Linked DNA regions of Homo sapiens: all the other regions are linked to region 4. The links are contacts of gene promoters, found by promoter capture Hi-C in blood cells and fetal thymus (Javierre and others, 2016). All regions are on one chromosome and are shown on one strand. The core of a region is centred on a gene start or on the middle of the fragment in contact, and the rest is flanking DNA. Distances in the headings are between cores, read along the strand shown.

Region 1 (2,700 bases), core at 29-2,528, 3.1 Mb before region 4:
GGGCCAGGTACTTTGGCTCATGCCTGTAATCCTAACATTTTGGGAGGTCGAGGCAGGCGGATCACCTGAGGTCAGGGGCTTGAGACCAGCCTGGCCAACATGGCGAAACCCCGTCTCTACTAAAAATACAATTAGCGGGGTGTGGTAGCAGGCACCTGCAGCTACTCGGAAGGCTGAGGCAGGAGAATCACTTGAACCCAGGAGGCAGAGGTTGCAGTGGCTGAGATCGCGCCACTGCACTGCAGCCTGGGTGACAGAGTGAGACTGCATCTCAAAAATAAATAAATAAATAAATAAAATAAAAAACAAGTAAATAAAAAATATGTTGGGGATTTTCATTTCTTCTCCAGTCTCTATTTGCAGATCTTAGGCAGTTCCAGAAAAAGTGGGATCTTTTTCAGGAAAAGAGAGGACTATAATTGGATGCTAGCCTGCTGAAGTTCATCCCAGGAGGAGGCTTCGAGAAACCTGAAGGTCAAGGAAGTCCCTCAATTTCCTCACCTGCGGAATTCATACTGGTTTGAGACTGGTTGGAGCTACGTATATTGAGGGAAGCAGGTAATAGGTGCTCCACAGATGTGCCTGTCCAGGTTGTATGTCAATCAATATTATCTTGATAACTTGAGACCATCTAGAAGCACTATGTTCTTTTGCAAAGCAAAAATTGTATGCCTGGTGTATTTATTTTGCAAAATTAGATGTCTTTGCATAGCAAACACAGTGCTTTGCAGCAGTCAGTGATTTGGGGCCTCTAATAAATGGGGTCATCTTTTTTCATTCTGGTGACACTATCATGTTTAGAGGGAAATAAATTTGGTCAATGCATTTTTAAGGTAGGAAAAATTTTCATTCTTTGAAATTCAGCCACAATCCTGTTCATAAAGATGGCATCTTGGTTAGAACTTTACTGGGTGCCACAGGGGGTGGCGGTAAATTCTGAACCTGAATTTTCTCTGTTAATCATCACAATTTCTCCCTCACCAAACCCAGCACCATTTGCTTATTCTCAGTGGGAAGATATTAGGCTAAACCCATATGTGGAGGGAAGGCCTCCCACAGGGCATACCTGTCTTACCTGGTTTCTATGGCACTTTCCATAGAAGCAAACTGCCATCAGTCGGGGGCCAGAACTTGACCTCAGCTATCTTTGGCTCTAAAGCCTGTGCTTTTAACCACTGGAAATTATTAGGTTGTGCAGTTTTTGTTTCTGTTTTTTGATACGGAGTCTCACTCTGTCGCCCAGGCTGGAGTGCAGTGGCGTGATCTTGGCTCACTGCAACCTCCACCTCCCGGGTTCAAGTGATTCTCCCTCCACAGCCTCCCAAGTAGCTGGGATTACAGGTACCTGCCATCACGCCCAGCTAATTTTTATATTTTTAGTAGAGACGGGGTTTCACCATGTTGGCCAGGCTGGTCTCGAACTCCTGACCTCAGGTGATCCACCTGCCTCGGCCTCCCAAAGTGCTGGGATTACAGGCATGAGTCACCACTCCCAGCCACAGCTGGTTATTTAACAATGTAATATTACAGCATTTTCTTCAAGAGGTGGGTTGAGAGTGTAGGAGCCTCACAGTAGTTTGGAGCTCAGGATGTTTAGGATTACTTACTGTTTACTCAGGGTTCTCTAGAGAAACAGAATAGTGTGTGTGTGTGTGTGTGTGTGTGTGTGTGTGTGTACATATATATGTATAAAGACGGGTAAAATAAAGAGACAACACATGCGCACACACACATACATACTACTGTGTGTGTGTGATATATATATATATATATATATATATATATATATATATATATATATATCACGTAAAATAAAGAGATTTTAAGAAATTGTCTCATCTAATTATGGACATTGGCAAGTCCAAAAGCCTGCAGGCTGGAGGCAAGAGCTGATGCTGTAGTTTACCTCTGAAGGTACCCTGCAGAATTCCTTTTCATTCAGGGAGGTCAGTCTTTTTGATCTCTTGAGGCCTTCCACTGATTGGATGAGGCCCATCAACCTTATGCAGGGCAATCTGCTTTACTCAAATTCCACTGATTTAAATGTTTATCTCATCCATAGACATTCTCACAGAAATATCCCAATTAATGTTTGACCAAATATTTGAGTGCCATGGCCCAGCCAAGTTAACACATCAATTAACCACTACACTTATTTTCAAATTCTATTTGCCTTCTTTATTACATCAGTTCAAATAGCTCTTAACCAAATAGTTGTTCTGATACCACACATAAAGGGTTATATATATAATACAAATATGCGTGTGTGTATATATACATGCATATATTATATAGCTACATTATCTATATCTGTATATATTATATATACACATATGTATATTATATATGATACAAACACATATGCATTTTATCTATATATTTCCTACATCACATAATTTTAAAAGTCAGCTACACAAAGACTGTTTTCCAAATGTCAGTCACATAGAAGGAGAACCAGTTTGAAAAGATGTACATCTGAATGATAGAACAATTATAAAGAAATAATTTAACTTTTCTTGTTAAAGAACAAGGCAGGTTTATCCTTGAGTATAGATGGGACCATGGAGATTATTTTGATGTAAATCCCCTATTGTTTTGGGTCTTAGATGTTGTATAAACTCATATTTTGAGATAACAAAGAGGAAGAGGTATATCTTTTTATAAAGACCAATTCACAAAATACACATGTCAAAGGTCTTT
Region 2 (2,700 bases), core at 159-2,658, 3.1 Mb before region 4:
TGCCTGTCTGTTTTTAATTCATAAGAATGCACAGTAGCTGCACATTGTAAAATGCATTCCTGACACCCTCCCCGCCCCGCCCAGAAATAAAAAGCTTTCCAGGCATGACTTCTACGTTATTCTCTAAATCATAGTTATCTGTGGTGACCAGCAAGTTACCAAATATGGCTATAATATCCTATGTTTTCTCCATATGCTATGGAGAAACAAAGAACCCCTAAACAATGAAAACTAAGGAGACACAAACCCTCCCCCGAGACCCTAGGCTTGGAGGGGCACGAAATAATACCACCATTAATACTAATATTTGCTAAACTGTATTGTGCAAATTTGCTCAACTGTTTCCTCTGTTTCCTATGTGCAAGACCCTGTGCTGAGCACAGTATCTCACTGAGTCATCACAGTAATCCTGTGAGCTGGTACTGATTGTATTAGGCTGTTCTTGCATTGCTATACACAAATACCTGAGGCTGGGTAATTTATAAAGAAAAGAGGTTTAGTTGGCTCATGGTTCTGCAGCTTGCAGAGGAAGTGTAGCACTGTCATCAGCTTGGATTCTGGGGAGGCCTCAGGGGGCCTTTATTCATGGTGGAGGGCAAAGAGGGAGCAGGCATCTCACATGGCCAAGTGGGAGCAAGAGAGAGATAGTGGTGGGGGAGGTGCCACACACTTTTACAAAGACCAGATCTCAGCCGGGCGCAGTGGCTCACGCCTGTATTCACAGCACTTTGGGAGGCTGAGGCAGGCAGATCACGAGGTCAAGAGATCGAGACCATCCTGGCCAACATGGTGAAACCCCATCTCTACTAAAAATACAAAAATTAGCCTGGCGTGGTGGTGCATGTCTGTAGTCCCAGCTACTCAGGAGGCTGAGGCAGGAGAATCGCTTGAACCCAGGAAGCGGAGGTTGCAGTGAGCTGAGATCGTACCACTGCTCTCCAGTCTGGCGACAGAGTAAGACTCCGTCTCAAAAAAAAAAAAAAAAAAAAAAAAAAGACCAGATCTCCTGTGAACCCAGAGTGAGAGCTCACTCTTCACCAAGCCATTCATGAGGGATCCACCCCTATGATCCAAACACCTCCCACTAGGCTCCATCTCCAATACTGGAGATTATATTTCAACGTGAGATTTGGACTGGGACAAATATCCAAACTATATCACTAATGTTACACTTGTTTTATAGATGTGAAAAGGTGCTCCTTATAATGGAGGATGATTGACCTGTCCAAAATCACAGAGCAAGATGGTGATAAAATCAGGTCACCAAGCCAGGCTTGCCCAGTGCTAAGACTTCTCCCTATTATATCACCTCCCAGAATTAAGACAATGGAGTTTTCCCATGCCACACCCAGCATTGCCTACTCTCTGTAATGGCTATGTTGGGTCTGGAGACTCCGATTTTCCATGAAACTCAGTAGTCATACACTTGGAAATCTCAAGTTCTGCCTTTCCCCCTTTTGGCATGGGTGGCTGTCCCACTATGTCTCAGCCTTGCCACTTCTTCCTAAATCTGAGAAAGTGAATGTTAGCCAGCCCTGACTCTTTCCTGTTGACTTAGCAAGCACTGATTGAACTTGTACTTGGAACAATGGTTTCCTAGGTTCTGAGTGGCAGAATGGGGCAGGAGGGGAGGAGACCAGTGAGGCGAGGCTTGACCAATACCAAGCTGGCTAACATCAATATGGCTCTTTACCATTTTACAGAGAGTGTTCACACACTCATTCTCCTATGGTTCCCACACAGGAATCTCTGAAGTAGGAGCAGGCATCCCATCTCACAGGTGAGGACAAAGCCTCTCACAGAGTGTATGTGCCTCATCTGTGGCCACGTGCTCTGCAGAATCAGGGTTCAATTACCATCCCTGTGATGCCTCGTGGAGTGCTCTGCATTGCTGCTGGAATCCTATGTCTCCTCCTACTTACTTTCCTCTATTTCATTCTCATACATAGCTGAACCTCTCTGTGCCTCACTTTCCTCATCTGTATATGGGGAGAACAATAGTGGCTACTGTTTTGTTGTGAAGATTAAATAAGGTAATACATGTAAAGATAGTTGAAAGAGTACATAACACATAATAATTACTTAACAAACATTAGGTACTCATAGTTACTATTAACAATTACTAGTATTACCATTACTGCTGATACTATGATGCACACACAAGTAACAATTATAAAGATATATGCAAATAAATGCAAATGAGTATATGCACTTGCTTATTATTTTACAATGAAAGTGCTGAATGATACGAAGCAAAAAAAAGTGATATAAAATAAGATTTCCTAAACTTGGCTGTTTTTGATATATATATATCCCTAACATTTCATGTTTCAGTAATTAAGGCCATGAAGAGAACTAAAATATTGACTAAATCCTGGAGGAATTTCCAAATGGGAATGATGGAAAGACAGACACAGAGACAGGCCAGCCACCACAGCCACCAGGTTAAAATGAGGGAAGGCCTACAATTGCCATGGGAACAGAGAAGACAAGGAGAGGGAAAAGAGAGAAGCATTTTTTTTTTTTTGAACTAGGCCAGCTAACACAGTTATGTAACTTAATTGTCATAACTGTCATGTGAGATACATGGTATTAGCCTCATTTTACAAATGTGGAAATTGAGACTCAAGTTCAAGTACCTTGTTGAAGTCACAAAATGAAATGGAATTTTAACAGACTTTTACTCTAAAACCCATGCTT
Region 3 (2,700 bases), core at 61-2,560, 3.4 Mb before region 4:
AGAAATGCCTCCATTTAAGGGAATGGTGCTCAACCTTGGCTGCATGTTGGGGTCACTTAGAGGTTATAAAAGCTCCTGATGCCTGGGTCTCACCTCCAGATATTCTGATTTCATTGGCCTGAAAGGCAATCTGGCTATCAGAATGGGGTGTGTGTGTGTGTGTGTGTGTGTGTGTGTGTGTATGCTTTAAAAATTATTATTTATTTTTGGTATCTGACTTTTTAAGGCTTCCCAGGTAATAATACTGTGTAGCTGAAGTGAACAGCAATCAGTTAAAGGGGATGACAGAAGAGAAATTCAAGAAGCCATCTCACAGGGCCAGAGAGAGGGTAGAAGTGTTTTCATTTGTTCCATAACATGCATTGAGTACCTAATAATAATAGCTACCACCTAGTGAAGGCTGTGGCCAGGCCCTGTGCTGAGTCATTTGCACACATTATCTCATCTAATGCTCACACCACACAACATTATGAGATATTCTTACCCCCTTTTGCAGATGGAGAAACTAAGAATCAGAGAAGTCAAATAACTTGGCTAAAGTCATACTTCTAAAACTTAGTGGGAGAGTCAGGATTCCAATGTGGTGTAGGATATCTTCCAAACCCTTGGAGTTAATCACTGTGCTATGCTGCCCATCACCTGCCAGATTTTCTGCTTGGAACTGTCAAGGGGCTTGCGGTCTTGTGGGTATAGAAGAGTTACACATAATGAGGTAAGTGCTGCGGTGGAGGAAGGTAAAATATCCCGGTGGAGAAAGCTCATAATAGCCTGGAGGACTCAAGAAAAGCTTTGCCTATGAGCTAATGCCTCGGGAAATATTTTCTATTTATTCCTGCACCCAGAAACAGGCTCCACCTCTTGATAGGAGGGGAACACATGTCTGTAGGGAGAAAAGAGTTGATGGTGGCCATCTTGAAGGTAAACGACTACAGTCTTGATCCTGGGCACTTCTGAGAGAGGCCTGGTAGCTGTTAACTTTCCTTTCAGACCCTTTGGGTTTATGAAGATGACAAAATCTCTCAAGCGAATGGCAGCCAGATTGGTTTCTATCTACTTTCATTTATTTATTTACCTTTATTTTAATTTGAGAGACAGGGTCTTGGTCTGTTGCCCAGGCTGGAGTGCAGTGGCACAATCATAGCTCACTGCTGCCTGAACCTCCTGGGCTCGGGTGATCCTCCACTTCAGCCTCCCAAGCAGCTGGGACTACAGTGCACACCACCACACCTGGCTAAGTTTTAAAATTTTTTGTAGAGACAGGGTTTTGCCATGTTGCCCAGGCCATTCTTCAACTCCTGGCCTCCAGTGATTCTTTCAGCCTCCTAAAGTGCTGGGATTACAGGTGTCAGCCACTGTGCCCGGCCATCTGTCTAGTTTTAAACTACCCTATAGTAAGATCCACAACTACTGGGAAGGGGCTCCTAGCCTTAGTCACACTCTGAAGAATTCTTCAGGAGCGGAGCAGCCAACTGGGCCAGTGATAGTACCCACTGCCTTCAAGAGAAATGCCCTTACATAAAGTTTGATATCTTATTTGGAAAGGTGTCTTCTAAGTCAATGTGAATTTACTGCATTTGGAGGGAGAAAGGGCACATTTCAACTTTCAGAAATGGGAAGCTAAAAGTGGGCATCAGTCAGGGTTGTCATCACCTTATATATCATAACTGAATTTGTGCTGATGTCATCCTTGACTACATGAGTCAGAACATAATAAACTTTAAAATTGCCAGAAGAAAGGCTGCTGCTCATGCTTGTGATTTATGACACAAATCCAAAGCTGCTACATTTTCTGCACTTACCATTTATATTTGCATGAAGTTCAAAGGGGGAACAAGAAGCTTAACTCTTTCTCTGACGTGGTCAACAAGACTGTAGTCTCAGAAGGAACCAGATTTGCTTTGTGCATTTTAACATAGGGTTCTTAGTGTCTGTTTTTGATTGAGAGAGACACCTTTGCATTAACCACACAACTTCACTCTCTGTTCCATCCCTGAGGCTGCTCAAGGGAACCAGCTTATTATAAACAGGTTTAATTGAGGTTCCTTAAAAGTCAGGGAGTTGAGAACTCTTTTATTTGAATGCAATAGCTGTATCAATTTGAGATGCAATTAGTGGCCAAATATATAATTTTATACAAGTGGTCCTCACCAATTTGCAGACTTTTAAAAATTAAATTTACTATTAATGAAATTATTCAGGGGTAAGACATTCAACATTAGGATGGTTAAAAATGGCAAGGAATGTTTATATTGCTTCAGGCTGCTTTAACAAAATACTTTAGACTTTTGGTGGTTTATAAACAACACTTATTTCTCACAGTTCTGGAGGCTAGGAACTCCAAGATCAAGTTGCCAGCAGATTTGGTGTCTGGTGAGGGCCCATTCCTTATAGACAGTGCCTTCTTGAGGTGTCCTCACAGGATGGAAGGTGCCAAAGAGTTCCCTTATAAAAAGACATGAAGGTCGGGTACAGTGGCTCATGCCTGTAGTCCCAGCACTTTGGGAGGCTGAGGCGGGCAGATCACCTGAGGTCAGAAGTTCAAGACCAGCCTGGCCGACACGGTGAAATCTTGTCTCTATAAAAATGCACAAATTAGCCAGGCATGGTGGCAGGCACCTGTAATCCCAGTTTCTCTGGAGGCTGAGGCAGGAGTATCACTTGAACCCGGGAGGCGGAGGTTGCAGTGAGCCAAGATCATGC
Region 4 (2,700 bases), core at 108-2,607:
ATCACAACAAGAATATTTCATTCTAGATTTTAGAATCCCAGGTTTTGGCTCACTTTGGTCAAGAAAAATTATAAATAATTGAGTTACAGATAATTAAATGTTAGCCTCCTGGAGTGCATGGCAATTGGTTTTGACCTCTATATTAAAATTCACAAGACCACGGACATAAGTCAAAACAGGTCCCCTTCGTCTCCCTAGTCACCATCTCCAGGGCTAAAAAACAGACTTGAAATGGGTGGCAGTTAGACTACAGGAAACAGGATCTACAAGCACCAGGAGCTCATCTATGGCTATCTGACATCGCCTGGGGACACCTCACTCTCTGGCAGGCTCCTGCTGGCTGGAGATTGTTAACATCGCCAATCAGATGTTAATTGAATGCAAAGGAATAGGAAATAAATTCTGGTTCTGAAGGGGCAGCTGGAAAGGTGTTGGGCTTCTCAGATTCCAACCTACATTACAAAGCAGGCCTAAAGCCAAGCATACTCCTTGCCAGAAGAAACGGAAAGCCCCTCTCCCGTTTTTAGAATCAGGCTGGAAAACACGGCTCCCAGAAGGTGGGGTTAGAAAACAAGAGCTTGCGAGGCGGCGCCCTGTGGTCCCTCGAGGAAATAGTAGAGAGACAAAGAGGGCCTGCTCCTGGGAAGCCCTAAATTCGAAGCCAATCCTTCCTCCTAGACATGACCACAACTTTAAAGGGCAGGGCGCACACCTCCCCTCCCGGATCTCTAGGACAAAGGCAGGTCGAGGGTAAATATTTCTAGTTATTCAGTATATTCAGTGGCTAACTATTTATTTTGTGGGTACCAGACACCGACATAATCGGTTACGTCCTTCCCTTAATTCTCATAATTCTGAGGTTTGTGTTATTAACCCCCTATTATCTTTGGTCTACCCAGGGCAGCCAAAGAGGCGCAGAGAAGAATGACAAGGTGCCCAGCAAGCGGCAGGATCAAAGCCTGGGTCTCTAATTCCCAGGCTGGAGATTCTGGGCTGCCTGCTCCTCCTGCACGGGGCGAAAAGCCCACCTGGGATCCGAGCGGGCGGCCGCGCCACTCTCGCAGGCTCCATACACCCGCCACTACCCGCCTGTACCACCTGCAGCCGGCAGCGCAGCCTCCTCGCGGGTCCCGCAGGGCGCGCTGCAGGTGCGCTGGGCGTCCCGAAGCCCCGCCCTCGCGTCCCTGCCCCGCGCCCAGCTCCTCACGCTCGGTGCCCGCGCCCCGCAGCGGCAGCGCAGAACGCACCGCCTCTGCCAGAGCCCGGGAAGCGCTCGGGCGAAGAGGAGGAGCCAAGGGTACCGAGCGGGTGGAGTCGGGAGCCGGAGAGCGGTGGAGGCGGATTTCCTGGGCCCGGCCCTCTGGCGCTACCATGGCGTTTGGCAAGAGTCACCGGGATCCCTACGCGACCTCCGTGGGCCACCTCATAGGTAAGGAGGCGCGGGGAGAGACGCCCAGGCAGGCAGGGGACCGTGGGATCCTTTCCTGCTTGATCCATTCTCGGCCTGCAGAGGACGGAGTTAGTCCAACTTGAAAAAATTATTCCCCTCCCCCCGCAACTTTCCCAAGGCACCCGCATTCCACCCGGCCCCCTTTCGTCGTTTCCTTCTTGGCCAACTCACTGTAGAACCTCAGTCCTCAAAAATGTACCTTCCTTTCGATGCCGCCTGGGGAGTGGAACCAAACAGGTGAACCGCGGGAGTCAGGCATGGAGTGTTTGGGCCTCCACGAGGAGACACCAGAAACTTCTCGGTAGGGGAAGTTATTCCTAAAGGCACATTCTCCAGGGCACGGTATTGTTATGCCCGTTTTACAGATCAGAAGAGGAGGCTCTGGGAGACTAAGTGATGTGGCCTTACTGTGAGGGGCAGGTCTCCCCAAACCAGTTTTCTCTAGTGCCAAGCTTATACAACCTGGATTACTTTTCTGGGTAAACAAAGAGAATGAAAATGCTTGGCATTGGAGTGAAGAGGAGGGGAACATAGGAGCCATCTGGGGCCACGGAGGTCTCTCGCAGGCCACTAGGGACTACACCAGCATCCACCTAAATGATTTCTCTCTCCTCCGGATGTACCTTGCATGATGTATGTAGAAGCCAGTGATTGGACTCCTACCAGCACCAGCTCACTGCTCCTTCTTTTCCCTGATTCCTCCCTTGGGAATTGGGTGTGGCACGAGTGCATATTAATGCCAGGCAAAGTGTGATGATGTCAGGAACTTAGTGGGGTGATGAAATCGTGAGAACCTAGTAGTTGTAGTAAAGAGGCCCAGATTTGGAAAATTTAGATCACAGCTCTACTAACTGCTGTGACACCGAACACACCACTTAAACAGAACCTTAGTTTACACATCCTTATAAGATGGTCAGAGTAGCTACCATTGAGGAGATGCTTTCCCTTAATGGCTGTGCTTTTTTGGATATTAGAATGAACCCCAAGCAGAAATGGATTCAGACTGTGTCTTCATAGGCAAACGAAACTTCAGCAGTTCTTCTGCTTAATTTTTTAATTCTGTAAACATGGACTAACTGTCAGCTATGTGCCTGGACCTGGATCAGGCACTGGTGAGGCCAAGGTGAGACGTGGTCTCAAACCTGAGGGAACTCACTTTCTTGTAGAGAAGACGGGCACAGTTTTGTGTGGCACCTTTGCAATGCAAGAAAATGCAAAACACACAAAACTTAGGAGAAGGGAGAAATGAA

The links. Contacts are between HindIII fragments. The CHiCAGO score rates a contact against its expected background, and 5 or more counts as called.
Region 1: a contact is called between a fragment that was not itself captured here and the fragment with the promoter of TOM1L1 in region 4, in 1 of 17 cell types (endothelial precursors). The highest score is 6.1, in endothelial precursors.
Region 2: a contact is called between a fragment that was not itself captured here and the fragment with the promoter of TOM1L1 in region 4, in 1 of 17 cell types (endothelial precursors). The highest score is 7.8, in endothelial precursors.
Region 3: a fragment that was not itself captured here is called in contact with the fragment with the promoter of TOM1L1 in region 4 in 1 of 17 cell types (endothelial precursors); the score reaches 5.6 in endothelial precursors.

What each region holds. Positions count from the first base shown.
Region 1 is chr17:51,752,646-51,755,345 of GRCh38, forward strand. All of the region lies in intron 3 of CA10 (carbonic anhydrase 10), which reads right to left. Among named protein-coding and RNA genes, the nearest start is that of LINC02073, 320 kb to the left of the region's middle. The HindIII fragment of the contact is 5,749 bases long and covers 1-2,700 here.
Region 2 is chr17:51,770,154-51,772,853 of GRCh38, forward strand. All of the region lies in intron 3 of CA10 (carbonic anhydrase 10), which reads right to left. Among named protein-coding and RNA genes, the nearest start is that of LINC02073, 340 kb to the left of the region's middle. The HindIII fragment of the contact is 2,633 bases long and covers 93-2,700 here.
Region 3 is chr17:51,455,427-51,458,126 of GRCh38, forward strand. No RefSeq gene overlaps it. Among named protein-coding and RNA genes, the nearest start is that of LINC02073, 21 kb to the left of the region's middle. The HindIII fragment of the contact is 1,051 bases long and covers 786-1,836 here.
Region 4 is chr17:54,899,495-54,902,194 of GRCh38, forward strand. It overlaps TOM1L1 (target of myb1 like 1 membrane trafficking protein), which reads left to right and starts at 1,358. Exons shown (of 16, transcript NM_005486.3): 1 at 1,358-1,429. The coding sequence starts at 1,372. LOC124904033 (a long non-coding RNA gene) reads right to left here and starts at 1,243. Exons shown (of 2, transcript XR_007065854.1): 1 at 1-1,243. RefSeq lists a silencer at 1,033-1,372 and enhancers at 1,453-1,562, 1,583-1,672. The HindIII fragment of the contact is 6,286 bases long and covers 1-1,900 here.